4 separate regions of the Homo sapiens genome follow, and regions 1, 2 and 3 are each linked to region 4. Evidence: promoter capture Hi-C in 16 types of primary human blood cells and fetal thymus (Javierre and others, 2016). All regions are on one chromosome and are shown on one strand. Each heading gives the region's core, a stretch centred on a gene start or on the middle of the fragment in contact. The rest is flanking DNA. Distances are from core to core; before and after follow the strand shown. Region 1 overlaps EVL (Enah/Vasp-like). Region 2 overlaps YY1-DT (YY1 divergent transcript). Region 3 overlaps YY1 (YY1 transcription factor). Region 4 holds the start of DEGS2 (delta 4-desaturase, sphingolipid 2).

The links. The method cuts DNA at HindIII sites, captures the fragments that hold promoters and counts their contacts. A CHiCAGO score of 5 or more calls a contact.
Region 1: a contact is called between a fragment that was not itself captured here and the fragment with the promoter of DEGS2 in region 4, in 7 of 17 cell types (total B cells, erythroblasts, megakaryocytes and 4 more). The highest score is 12.6, in total B cells.
Region 2: a fragment that was not itself captured here is called in contact with the fragment with the promoter of DEGS2 in region 4 in 1 of 17 cell types (total B cells); the score reaches 5.4 in total B cells.
Region 3: a fragment that was not itself captured here is called in contact with the fragment with the promoter of DEGS2 in region 4 in 1 of 17 cell types (total B cells); the score reaches 5.5 in total B cells.

The regions. Positions count from the first base shown.
Region 1 is chr14:100,069,281-100,071,980 of GRCh38, reverse strand. All of the region lies in intron 1 of EVL (Enah/Vasp-like), which reads right to left. Among named protein-coding and RNA genes, the nearest start is that of EVL, 5.2 kb to the right of the region's middle. RefSeq lists an enhancer at 2,409-2,700. The HindIII fragment of the contact is 1,969 bases long and covers 387-2,355 here.
Region 2 is chr14:100,228,792-100,231,491 of GRCh38, reverse strand. All of the region lies in intron 1 of YY1-DT (YY1 divergent transcript), which reads left to right. Among named protein-coding and RNA genes, the nearest start is that of YY1-DT, 8.5 kb to the left of the region's middle. The HindIII fragment of the contact is 1,319 bases long and covers 761-2,079 here.
Region 3 is chr14:100,281,848-100,284,547 of GRCh38, reverse strand. YY1 (YY1 transcription factor) reads right to left here. Exons shown (of 5, transcript NM_003403.5): 5 at 1,760-2,700. It also overlaps a transcript of SLC25A29 not described here. Among named protein-coding and RNA genes, the nearest start is that of MIR6764, 5.8 kb to the right of the region's middle. The HindIII fragment of the contact is 687 bases long and covers 1,079-1,765 here.
Region 4 is chr14:100,158,312-100,161,011 of GRCh38, reverse strand. It overlaps DEGS2 (delta 4-desaturase, sphingolipid 2), which reads left to right and starts at 1,367. Exons shown (of 3, transcript NM_206918.3): 1 at 1,367-1,506. The coding sequence starts at 1,425. LOC124903380 (a long non-coding RNA gene) reads right to left here and starts at 975. Exons shown (of 2, transcript XR_007064330.1): 1 at 881-975. RefSeq lists silencers at 1,021-1,420, 1,521-1,580. The HindIII fragment of the contact is 5,862 bases long and covers 1-2,700 here.

The sequences.
Region 1 (2,700 bases), core at 122-2,621, 89 kb after region 4:
ATTAAATCATTTATAGGGTGCCATTTTTTTTTCTTAATGGGCACAGGTGTGAAACAGGTTTCATGCTATGAAGTAGACTTAAAATGTTTATTGTGAAGTACTTCAGGCCTGTGAGAAGTAGGTTCCCACGATCCCACCACACAGTCTAGGAAATCTGACAGCAAGTCATAAAGCTGTTTAGTTCAAGTGACGCCTGCATCCTCCTCCCAGACCCAGAGCCCCTCCTCTCTACCAGGGGGAACCGCCACCTTGCAGGTGGTATTTTCAATTCCATGCTTGCTGTCTGTAGTGCAGCCATACAACTGACTATTTTACACACATAGTTCTCAAACTTTTTTGGTCAAGAGAACCCCTTTACACTCAATTATTGAGGATGCCAAAAAGCTTCTGTTTTATGTAGGTTAAGTCTATCCATATTCACCTTATTTGAAATTAAAACTAATAATTTTTTAAAACACAAGAATATACAAGCAGACATTTCATTAGCTGCCACAGTGATGATGTCAAAACATCACATAGCTCTGGAAAATTCCACCATGAATTCATGAGACAAGAGCTGAAATGGCAAATGATGTCTTAGTAATATTATAAATACAGTTCTGATCTACAGACTCCTAGGAGGGTCAATCTCTGGAGTACATTTTGAGAACTGCTGCATTACAGCAATGAAAGACAATGAATTAGCTCTCTGCATATTAACATGGGAAACCCAAATGGTGACTGAGCCCCATTTTTGAGAGTGTTAGAATTAAAGAAAGGCTTTGGGTAAATAAAGTCTACATTCAGTGTTAAACCCTGACACCTTCTTTTCTATCCAAATTGGTTGCCCACATCATGGGCAATCAAGACGTTTGCCTTTTCTCCTTGGATGTCACCCTCTCAGATGCCTGGACAGCTGGTCTCCATTACTCTGTGAAGTCTGGTGCAATCTGGAAAAACACTCCAACCAACTGTTGGGGGAGTCTGACATTCCTAGACTGACCCTGTCTCATATGCATCTCCCATACTCTTTCAAGGCCACCGGCGTAGCCCTTTCTTTGGGGAGCCATCTGACAGCCACGTGGACGTTAAGGCTACTCAAACCTCAAAAACATTTATATATTTTGCTCTGTGTCTTCATCTCAAAATTTGTGTCCCCAGAGTCTGTGACTCTGATCACTTGTGAAGTGGAACAGGTTTTAGCACAGCCTTGGGACAACTGTAGAGGCCTGGCTTGGGCCAAGGATTGGGACAGTATGTTCAGCTCCAAGGATGAATCAACAGCCTGGGAATGAAGACCCCGGCTCTGCCCTTACAAACACCCCTGAAGACACAAGTAGCCACTTGGACTCTGTGCTATTTACTAGGCACAGGGACAAACATGAATGCATAACACAAGCGTCCTGCTCTGAAAGAGCTCTAGGCTGGTAGGAGAGATCCTGAGCCGACAGAGCATCGACAAGAGATACGCACGCAGGCACGGGGTGCTACAGGACAGACGAGGTCTCTTTTGTCTCTTGTGGTATTAACAGCACAGAATGACGGAGACTGCAAAATAGAGATCAGGAGGGCCTCGATTCTACCCTTGACTCTGCAAATTGGGACAAGTTTAGCTTTGAGAAGTTAAAGCTGAGAGGGCAGATTTTGATCCTCTCAGAGATCAAAAGCTCCGTCAAGTGACAACAATGTGACCTGGAATACGATACTTTGTAGGCCCTTGTTTTCTTTTCTTTTTGAGGTAGGGTCTTGCTCTGTCACCAGGGTGGAGTGCAGTAGTGTGATCACAGCTCACTGCAGGCTTGAACTGCTGGGCTCAAGCAATCCTCCCACCTCAGCCTCCTGAGAAGTTGGGACTATAGGCTTCAGGCATGCACTATCACATCTGGCTAATTTTCATTTTTTAATTTTATTTTCTTTCTTTCTTTTTTTTTTTTTTTTTAAGAGAGGAGGTCTTACTATGATGCCTAGGCTGGTCTTGAACTCCTCAGCTCAGGTGATCTACCTGCGTTGGCCTCTCAAAGTGTTGGGATTACAGGAGTGAGCCACCATACCCGGCCAACCCTTGTTTTCTTATCTGTAAAGTGGCAATAGTGATACCAGACCTCAAAGGATGAGAATTAAATAGTATGTATATCATGTAACTAGCGTAATGGTTGGTGTATAACACTGAGAAAAGCTGAGCTGTTGTTATTTTCCTCCTCTGTGGGTTCAGTTACCAAAGCAAAGCCATTGGACTACACTAGTTCTCATCCATTTTCTGCCCCAGCCCACCTGAGTATCGTAACATTCTCATGAGAATAACCTAGAATCTCCAGAGGAATGTTTCTCAACTAGAGGCACATGGGATTCTTTGAGACAGAGGAAGGCAGAGAAGCTTCAGAAGCTCTCCAAATGATTTGGCTACAGGTCTCTAGGGAAGTGCGGGTTCCCATGGAGAGTGAACGGACTACGTGATCTCTGAGGGCTTGTTCAATTGCCTCTGGGACTCTCTGACTTGCCCGTGAGGACTGGAAATACCTGTGAGAAAGGAAACACCAGGTGTTCCTGGAGACTCCTCCAAACCCTCACACAAAGGCGTACAATTAGGTGCGAAGGATTGTAAGCTGAACCCCGGCTGTGCGAGACTTCTTATATCTTTACAGCTTCAAGATGTGCAGCACAGTGGAATAAACAGTAATGACTGTGCCCAAGCAGCCACAGCTCCTTCACTACCTGACAGCA
Region 2 (2,700 bases), core at 171-2,670, 70 kb before region 4:
GGGTTCAGGTCCTGGTTCTGCCATTTATCACCTGTGTAACTATCAGAAAAACTTGTAACTAATCAACTTGTCATTTTTTCAGCTGTAAAACAGGAATAAGCCGGGTGCAGTGGCTCACACCTGTAATCCCAGCTCTTTGGGAGGCCAAGGTGGGTGGATCACTTGAGGCCAGAAGATTGAGACAAGTCTGGCCAACATGGCGAAACCCCGTCTCTACTAAAAATACAAAAAAATTAGCTGGGCGTGGTGACACATGCCTGTAGTCCCAGCTACTTGGGAGGCTGAGGCAGGAGAATCGCTCATACCCGAGAGATAGAGGTTGTGGTGAGCCAAAATCACGCCCCTGCATTCCAGCCTGGGCGACAGAATGAGACCCTGTCTCAAAAATAAATAAATAAAACGAATAAAAATATCAGTCTTCAGGAGTTATAGAAATCTGTAAGGGTAAGTAAAATACTTGAATCAGGTGTGCAAATTAAGGAAGAGGGCACAGTGTTTGTACTCTCCAGGACTGGTTCTGTTTCCTTCTTACCCTTGTTCATAGGTGAACTGGCCTGCCCACTCACATCTTAGCATCTGTGTTTGTTCTTTGCATTTAGGCACTGCTGACTTCAGGACTAATGCTTATAGACAGGACCCAGTGTTCACTTAGTTTCTTAGGGTAGATGAGGACACATTGCTAGCCAGACCTTTTTTTTTTCTTCTTCTTCTTCTTCTTCTTTTTTTTTTTTTAAGAGATTTGGTATATTAGTGATAAGCTTTTAAAATCTGAGCCTCCAGAACCTGATGTGTTTGCCTCCTAGGTATCTCTCAAACCCAACTCTTCTCCATGCCTGTGACTGCTGTCCTCACACGGGCTCTGGCTCTCTCCCCTCACCTCTGCTGACCAGCTGCTCTAACTGCCTCCAGTCTTCCTTCCCCAAGGCACTCCTGGATTTTCCTAGCATTAGCATGTAACCGTATCACTGCCCTGATCAAAGTCTTCAGGGGCTTCCCAGGGCTTCAGCTCCTCAGCAAGGCATTCCCAAGCCTTCCAGCCTTATTCCCCGTCCTTCCTATTACCTCGAGGTGTGTGGACCATGACAGTTCCTATCTTTGTTTTCAGAGCGATCTTTTCCTCTGCCTAAAATATCCTTTCCCACCTTCTTCAACTTTATACTTCTTCCAGGACAGCCTGGATGACCTCTCTAGGACACTTTCCTTGGAAGGGTGTTTCCATAGCACTCTCCCCAAATTGTTGTCATTGTACTTACATTATAATACGTGTGTCCTTACATTTTAATACATGTGTCCGTTAATGTTTTTATTTTCCCACAAAAGCACACGAGGTTCTTCGAGGGCAGGGATGGGTGTCTCATTTGCCTCTTATTTCCAGAGGGAAAAGAGTCAGCCCAGTCTGGACACACGGTGGGCCCTATGTGAACAGAGATACCTGCTGATGCTACTGCCTCTGCCCTCCTTCACCACCTATTGCCTGTAGGGTAGTCCAGAATCCTTAGCTGGGCTTTAAGCAAACATGGTATGGCAAAGAAAAAAGACCTGATTTGAATATTTATTGACTATTTAGTCCATTGACTAGCTAAATGATCTTAGAGGAGTTTCTGAATCTCTCTGGGCCAATTTCTTCATCTGTAAAAAAGGAATATTACTGTTCAATATTGTTATAAAGTGTGATTGAAATAACGTACAACACTCCTGGCATGTAATAGGTGCTAAATACATTTCCTCATCTCTTACTGTTTTTCTCCCTCCCCCCTGCACTATTCTGAGCAGCCTCCACCTGCCACACACACACACACACACACACACGCACACACTGAAGTCACAGACGCTTCGTTGTTGGTGAATACATCCCTCCATTTTTCATCCCTCCACTAAGGGATGCCTTCTTCACATCCACCTGCCTCTCTACTCTGTTCAGATCCTGCCTGAACTAAAGGCTTGCCCAGATCCTGCAGTTAAAAGGAATTTCTTCTCATTCCTTTCCTGCTCTATTTCCCTATAGCATGTAATATTTCTAACTTAATAGTCAGCTGTCTTATTTTAATCACTTGAAGATAGTTAACTGGGTTGGAAGCTTCTGGGGGAAAGGATGTTTCTTCTGCATTTTTGTAGCTCACTGTGGTTCTGAGCACTCTGGGTCTGGAACATGTGAAGTGTTAAATAAATGGTTGTTCACTGTAGCCCGGAGAGTTGGGGATGATGGGAAGATGCTTCTCAACCTGGCTAAACAGTGTCTTCACAGTCTTAAAGGAATCAGACTCTCTGGGAACTCAGTTTTAGCTTACTTGTCCTTAAGACTTTTGAGTGTTATTAATCTCTATGATATCTGGCAATTAGACATAATTCTAGAAAATCCATTTCAAACACAATGAAAAATCAGTCTTGGACTTCGTTTATAATGTGATGAAGGTAAGGAAATTGCTTGCCCCAAACTACATGAAAGTGATATATATTTCTAATTATGTTCTCAAAGGGATATTCCAAAAGGAGTTAGTGCTGCGGAAATCCTTGAAGTAGACTGTGTTTTGGGAAAATCATTTCGACAAGCTCAGATTCAGCGTCCATAGAAAACAACGATTTCCAGTCTTATTGATTGATGTATTAAGCCAGTCGTTAGCAGGGAACAGTGTGCAATCTGTGTTACAGGTAGTTAGGGATGTTTTATAGACGTGCTCACACATACCTCTTCTAGCCATT
Region 3 (2,700 bases), core at 173-2,672, 120 kb before region 4:
TGAAAAATGAGATAAAGCCAGGACTGGGCTCTGAGGGTCGGCGGGACTGGATTTTTCGGTAGGAAGTAGGGAACCGCTGCAGTTCAAATCACGTGCTGAGACCCTGTTAGCAGAAAGGCCGTGTGGGGAGGTCAGCAAGGACCGAGGGGAACGGTCACAATGGCGGGCAGTCGGGGAGCCCTGAGGACCCTTCCAAGGCCAGGAGGCACCACTGCGCCAGAACAGAAAGGGCCGCACACCAGGGAGGCCGATGCACTGCTCCATAAACAAGGGCCAGGGCTTTTTTGAAAGGGGACTGGAGGAGAATTCAAGCTAAGGAGCCAGTGGCAAGCAGAGTACCTTGGAAGCCAGGCAGGCTTGGGCTTTGAATTCTGGCTGCCTGGACTTTGCAAATAAATCTGAGCCTGTTCCTCTCTTACAGCATGGTGATATTGCTAGCTAATTCATCAAAGGGTGGTTTGGAGGAGGCCACTGGGTACATATGTGTTCTCAACAAATGTTATGGGCTGCGCATGGTGGCTCACGGTAATCGTAGCTACTCGGGAGGCCAAGGCAGGAGGACCACTGGAGTCCAGGAATTCAAGGCAGCAGTGAGCTATGGTCGTGCCACTGCACTCCGGCCTAGGTGATAGCAAGACCCTGTCTCTTACCAAAAAATAAATAAATAAATAAAATAAAAAATTATAGCCAGGCAGAGACACCGGCAAGTATAAAGGAGAGATACTGGTTTCATCTGTATCTAGGGGTTTCTAAAGAAAGCAATTCCAGGCCAGGCACGGTGGTTCACGCCTGAAATCCCAGCACTTTGGGAGGCCGAGGCGGGTGGATTGTGAGGTCAGAAGTTTAACACCAGCCTGGCCAACATAGTGAAACCCCCATCTCTACTAAAAATACAAAATTAGCCGGGCATGGTGGCACACACAACCTCCTGCTATTCAGGAAGCTGAGGCAGGAGAACCGCTTGAACCCGGGAGGCAGAGGTTGCAGTGAGCTGAGATTGCGCGCCACTGCACTCCAGCCTGGGAGACACAGCAATACTCCATCTAAAAAAAAAAAAAAAAAAAGCAATTCCAAAGCTTTAGTTCCTTCCCATGTAAAATCTACAGGTTTTCCACCGTCTTGCTCAGCTCAGCCCTACTTAGGGCCTTCACTCAGCAGTTCTGGGCTTGCACAGGCCTGCGACTTGCCACCTCAGTAGCATTCTGTCAGCAGCCCCTTCTGTCACTAGCAAAAAGGGAAAGTCACATGTATTCAAGTAATAATGAACTTCACGCCTCACTCTGAACCTTGCTCTGCAGAACATCAGACACCAAGGCCCCAACCAGAGGGAGGAAGCTCTGCTCTGCATTTTGCTTTTGGCTAAATCCTAAGTAGCTCTCAGTGTATTTGGTCAAGTTCTTCCGAGTCCATCCCAGTTAGCTCCGGAGCTTCCAGGGCTGACATGGGCTCATAGGTCCGGCTGCGTGGGCATTTCACTGGGCTGTGCTTTCTGAACAGTGGGTGAGGCTCTCTTTAAAACGCCCTCTTGCTCCTGAGCCCACCTTGGAGCTGAAAGGTTACAGAAGCATTTCTTGCTGGTGTGAGACCAAATCCTGGGAGTTCCCAGTCCTGTGTGTGAGAAAGCAAGCCGCAAGAACTGCCCCGGGCAGTTTAGGCAACTCTTAGACCAGGAAGGGCTCATGGCCTGGTTTCATGTGCAGTGAAACACTAAAGAAGTGGCTTAGAGGACTGAGGAACAAACAAGAACCACAGGCATTAAAAAGCTTAACATTATGCATTTATTATATTGTATAGAGCCATATTACACATGCTTGGTGCTTCAAACTGAGTTATCAATGTTTTTCTGGATGCAAAGCCATCTGATGCTGGATGCGGATGCCTTAAATACTATATTTCTGCATCTATGACCTATGAGCTAAGGAAAAACCAAGGACAATTCCAGAAATGGCAAAGAACACTTAAGAAAAAGATGTACATGAGACGAAATGCTAAGTCCTTGAGCCAGGGCCTACAGAAGTTACCAGAAAGCGAATAAAAACATAATTTTTCTCACCACCTGTTGATAATAGAGCCTCACATGTCCGGGTATGGACAATGTAGAAAAAAGAGGTTGTTCCGTTTGGTACTGATGCCTTTCTCCCCTCCGTGATGTGTGCGGACATTGTGCGGCCCCCAGAGAGAGCAGCAGACAGAACAGAGCACAGCAAACTGCCCCCTCCTCAACACATCCCAGTGCTGTTTTTTTTTTTTACAGCATCTGGGTGTCTCATGAAAAGCGGTCAATTTGATCAAACTTGCCACCTTGTGGAAAATCAATCAGTGTGCTTCAGATGAATGTGACGCCATCACACGCACCCTCCTCTGACATCCAGAATGCTGGCGGGGGACATGGGGCTGGGTGCCTGCTCGGCCAGGACGAAGCTCTCCATGTGTCACCTCCCACCTTACGGCACCCAGTTTGTGGGAGGTTTGCTTTGCCTGCTGACCTGATGCTAACGCTCAGCTTAAACGCTCCATTCCAGATTTTACAAGGGGACTGGGTGATAACGTGTCAAGTACATGCTGCCCATACTTCCCATCAAGCCTCAGTACAGTCCCAGCTTAAAGATCCTCTCTGGCACCACACTGATCCCTTGGGCCTGGGGGTGGATGCCAGGAAGCCTCTTGGCCACAAATCTGCCCTCTTGTGGGTCAGAGGCC
Region 4 (2,700 bases), core at 118-2,617:
GGACCCTTCTGGCTGGGAACAGAGCAGGCTGCCCTGGGAGCAATGAGTCTTCTCCCAAGGGTGCAAGCTGGGCCGGGAGGCCTCCTGGGTGTGGCAAGGGGTGATGGCCATGGTGGCATGTGGGTCCCCCTGCTGATGGAAAATCTGGCCTCTGTGTCCACCTTTCCCATGGCTAATTCAGGGGATGGTGGCTGGCGGCTGCAGGACACCCATGCCTTCCTTCCTGGCTCACTCAGGACTGCCTTTGGCCCTGAGCTAAGGAAGGCCTGCCAAGTGTACCAAACCCCGGGCCATGGACTTCCATGGGACGCACAGAAGCACGCCCTCACTATGTGCGAGCCTGTGGCAGCGCTGGCTGATGTGTCAGTCAGCTCCCAGGCAACTGCCAGCCGAGGCCAGGCTCTGGCCCACAGGCACAGCAGGTCCACCCTCCAAAACTCCAAGGGAGTGGGAGAAGGAACAGAGGCATCACTGAGAGGGTGAAGATGAGGGGCCCTGTGCCCTTACCTCCCCAAAACTAGACTTTCCATTTGAGAACATTCAGGTTCTGCCTTGTTTCCAAGCGTTTGCATCTGCTGTTCCCCCTAGCACCAATGCCTTTCCCTTTTCTAGCTGTTGAACTCCTACCCACCCCTCAAGGCCCAATGCAAAAGTTCCTTCTATTGGATCCTAGCTGCTTCAGGGCCTACCTGTGTCATGGCACGTATCACCCTGAATCATAACAGCCACTTCTGTACCTGTGTCCCCATCCAGAACTCAAGTTCCCTGAAGGCAGGAGTGGGTCTGACTCATCCCTGTGAGGTTGCTGCAGACGCATTATCTCCCCTTTGCATTATTGGTGAAAGGGCCGGGTGGAGGAAGGGAGGATTGCTGCACCAACCTTTCCTCGGCGCCTGTTTACTGGCACCGTCGCATCCATTCCACGCCGATCCTCCGCAGTCCCCCTATCCTGCCAGCCGCTCCTCCTTGGGGCAGGGGCGGCGCGAGCCACAGGGGCGTGCCCGCGAGCGGGTCGGGGCTGCGGAGAGAACGGGCCGGGGTAAAAACCCGACGGCTGCCCGCGGGTGGGCGGGGCGCGCAGAGCCGGTGGGAGGCCGCGGTGGCAGCAGTCGCCCCCGCGCATCGAGGGACCCAGGGACTCGCGCAGATGGCACGCGGCCACCTCGGTCCTGCCGGGGAGCCCCATTTCCAACCGAGGCAACTGAGGTTCCCAAAGCGCCAGCTACCCGCCGGGGTCTGGAGAGCGCCGGGGCCCGGCCGCCCCGCCCAGCCAGAGGTGCCCCGCCCCAAGCCTGGCGCACCTGGCCCCGCCCCGCCGGGACCCCGCCCCCGCCCTAATCAGAGCTGGTTCCGCGCCGCGGCCGCCGCGACAGGTGCAGCAGAGCCGAGCCGGCCGCGCTCCGAACGGCGCCTCCCGCCCCACCATGGGCAACAGCGCGAGCCGCAGCGACTTCGAGTGGGTCTACACCGACCAGCCGCACACGCAGCGGCGCAAGGAGATACTGGGTGAGCGCCGCGCGGGGCCCACCCCGGTGGGGACCGCCCCGTTGGCCCGTCTGGAGTCGCGTCGTGGGGTCGAGCCCAGACGGGCCGCTCCAGCTCTGGCCCAAATTCCAGTGGGCGTTCCGCCATTGCCGCTCCCCTCCCTGGGGTCCCCGGCCGGCTCCCCGAGGGTCCCCCACCCTGGCCGGGTCTGAAACTCCCTGGGACCTGAGGATTCCGAGGACCCCAGTACGGGTCCGAGCGCCAGGGAGCGCGTCCCAGCTGTTCCTCGCGAGCCACTCCCGGGGCCAGGGCCGGGGCTCTGGGATGCTGGGACGCGAGGGCGCAGGGGCGGCCCCGGGACGCGCTACGAGGCGCACGCGCTCCCTGGCGCGGAGGCAGCTTGCGCGACGCGGGGCCTCCACCCGCAGTCACTGGGCGCCTGCTGCGCTCAGAGCCCCTGGGTCTCGCGGCCACGGGCGCCCCAGGCTGGAGTTCAGGGCGGATGAGCGCCGGGAAGGGAGCAAACGCGAATGAGAGGCGCGCGTGTTTTCTTTGAAAAAAGCAAAGATTGTACTAAAGAATCCTTCTATTCTGGCATGTCGCTTATTACGTGGTGGCTGTTTTCCTTGTTGCTTCGTGTCCTCTGCGAGGAGGGCATCTTTACCCACTCGGAGTCACTCTCGTTCATGCCAGAGGCCCCATCCCACCCACAAGCAAGGTGGCCCCGGTGAGTCGTCCTTGGCCCGGGCTTACGGGGTTAAAGGGCCTGCGTCTGGAGAGTGGCTTTTGCCAGATGCCACCAAATCGCCACAGGCTGAGACAGGCCCGCCCCTCCCGCCCTGCCTAAGTCAGCACCGCGCGTTGCCACACTTTGTAATCTTCAGTCAGATTGGGGAAACAATACCATTTCACTGTGGCTTTAATTTGCACTTATTTGATGGAGGTTTCACATTTTAATCGGGCGTTTTATTTAATTTAATTAATTTATTTATTTAGAGACAGAGTCTCGCGATCTCGGCTCACTGCGACCCCCGCCTCCCAGGTTCAAGCGATTCTCCTGCCTCAGCCTTCTGAGTAGCTGGGATTACAGGCACCTGCCACCACACCCGGCTAATTTTTGTATTTGTAGTGAGATGGAGTTTCACCATGTTGGCTAGGCGCGATCTTAGCTCACTGCAACCTCTCCCCACTGGGCTCAACTGATCCTCCTACCTC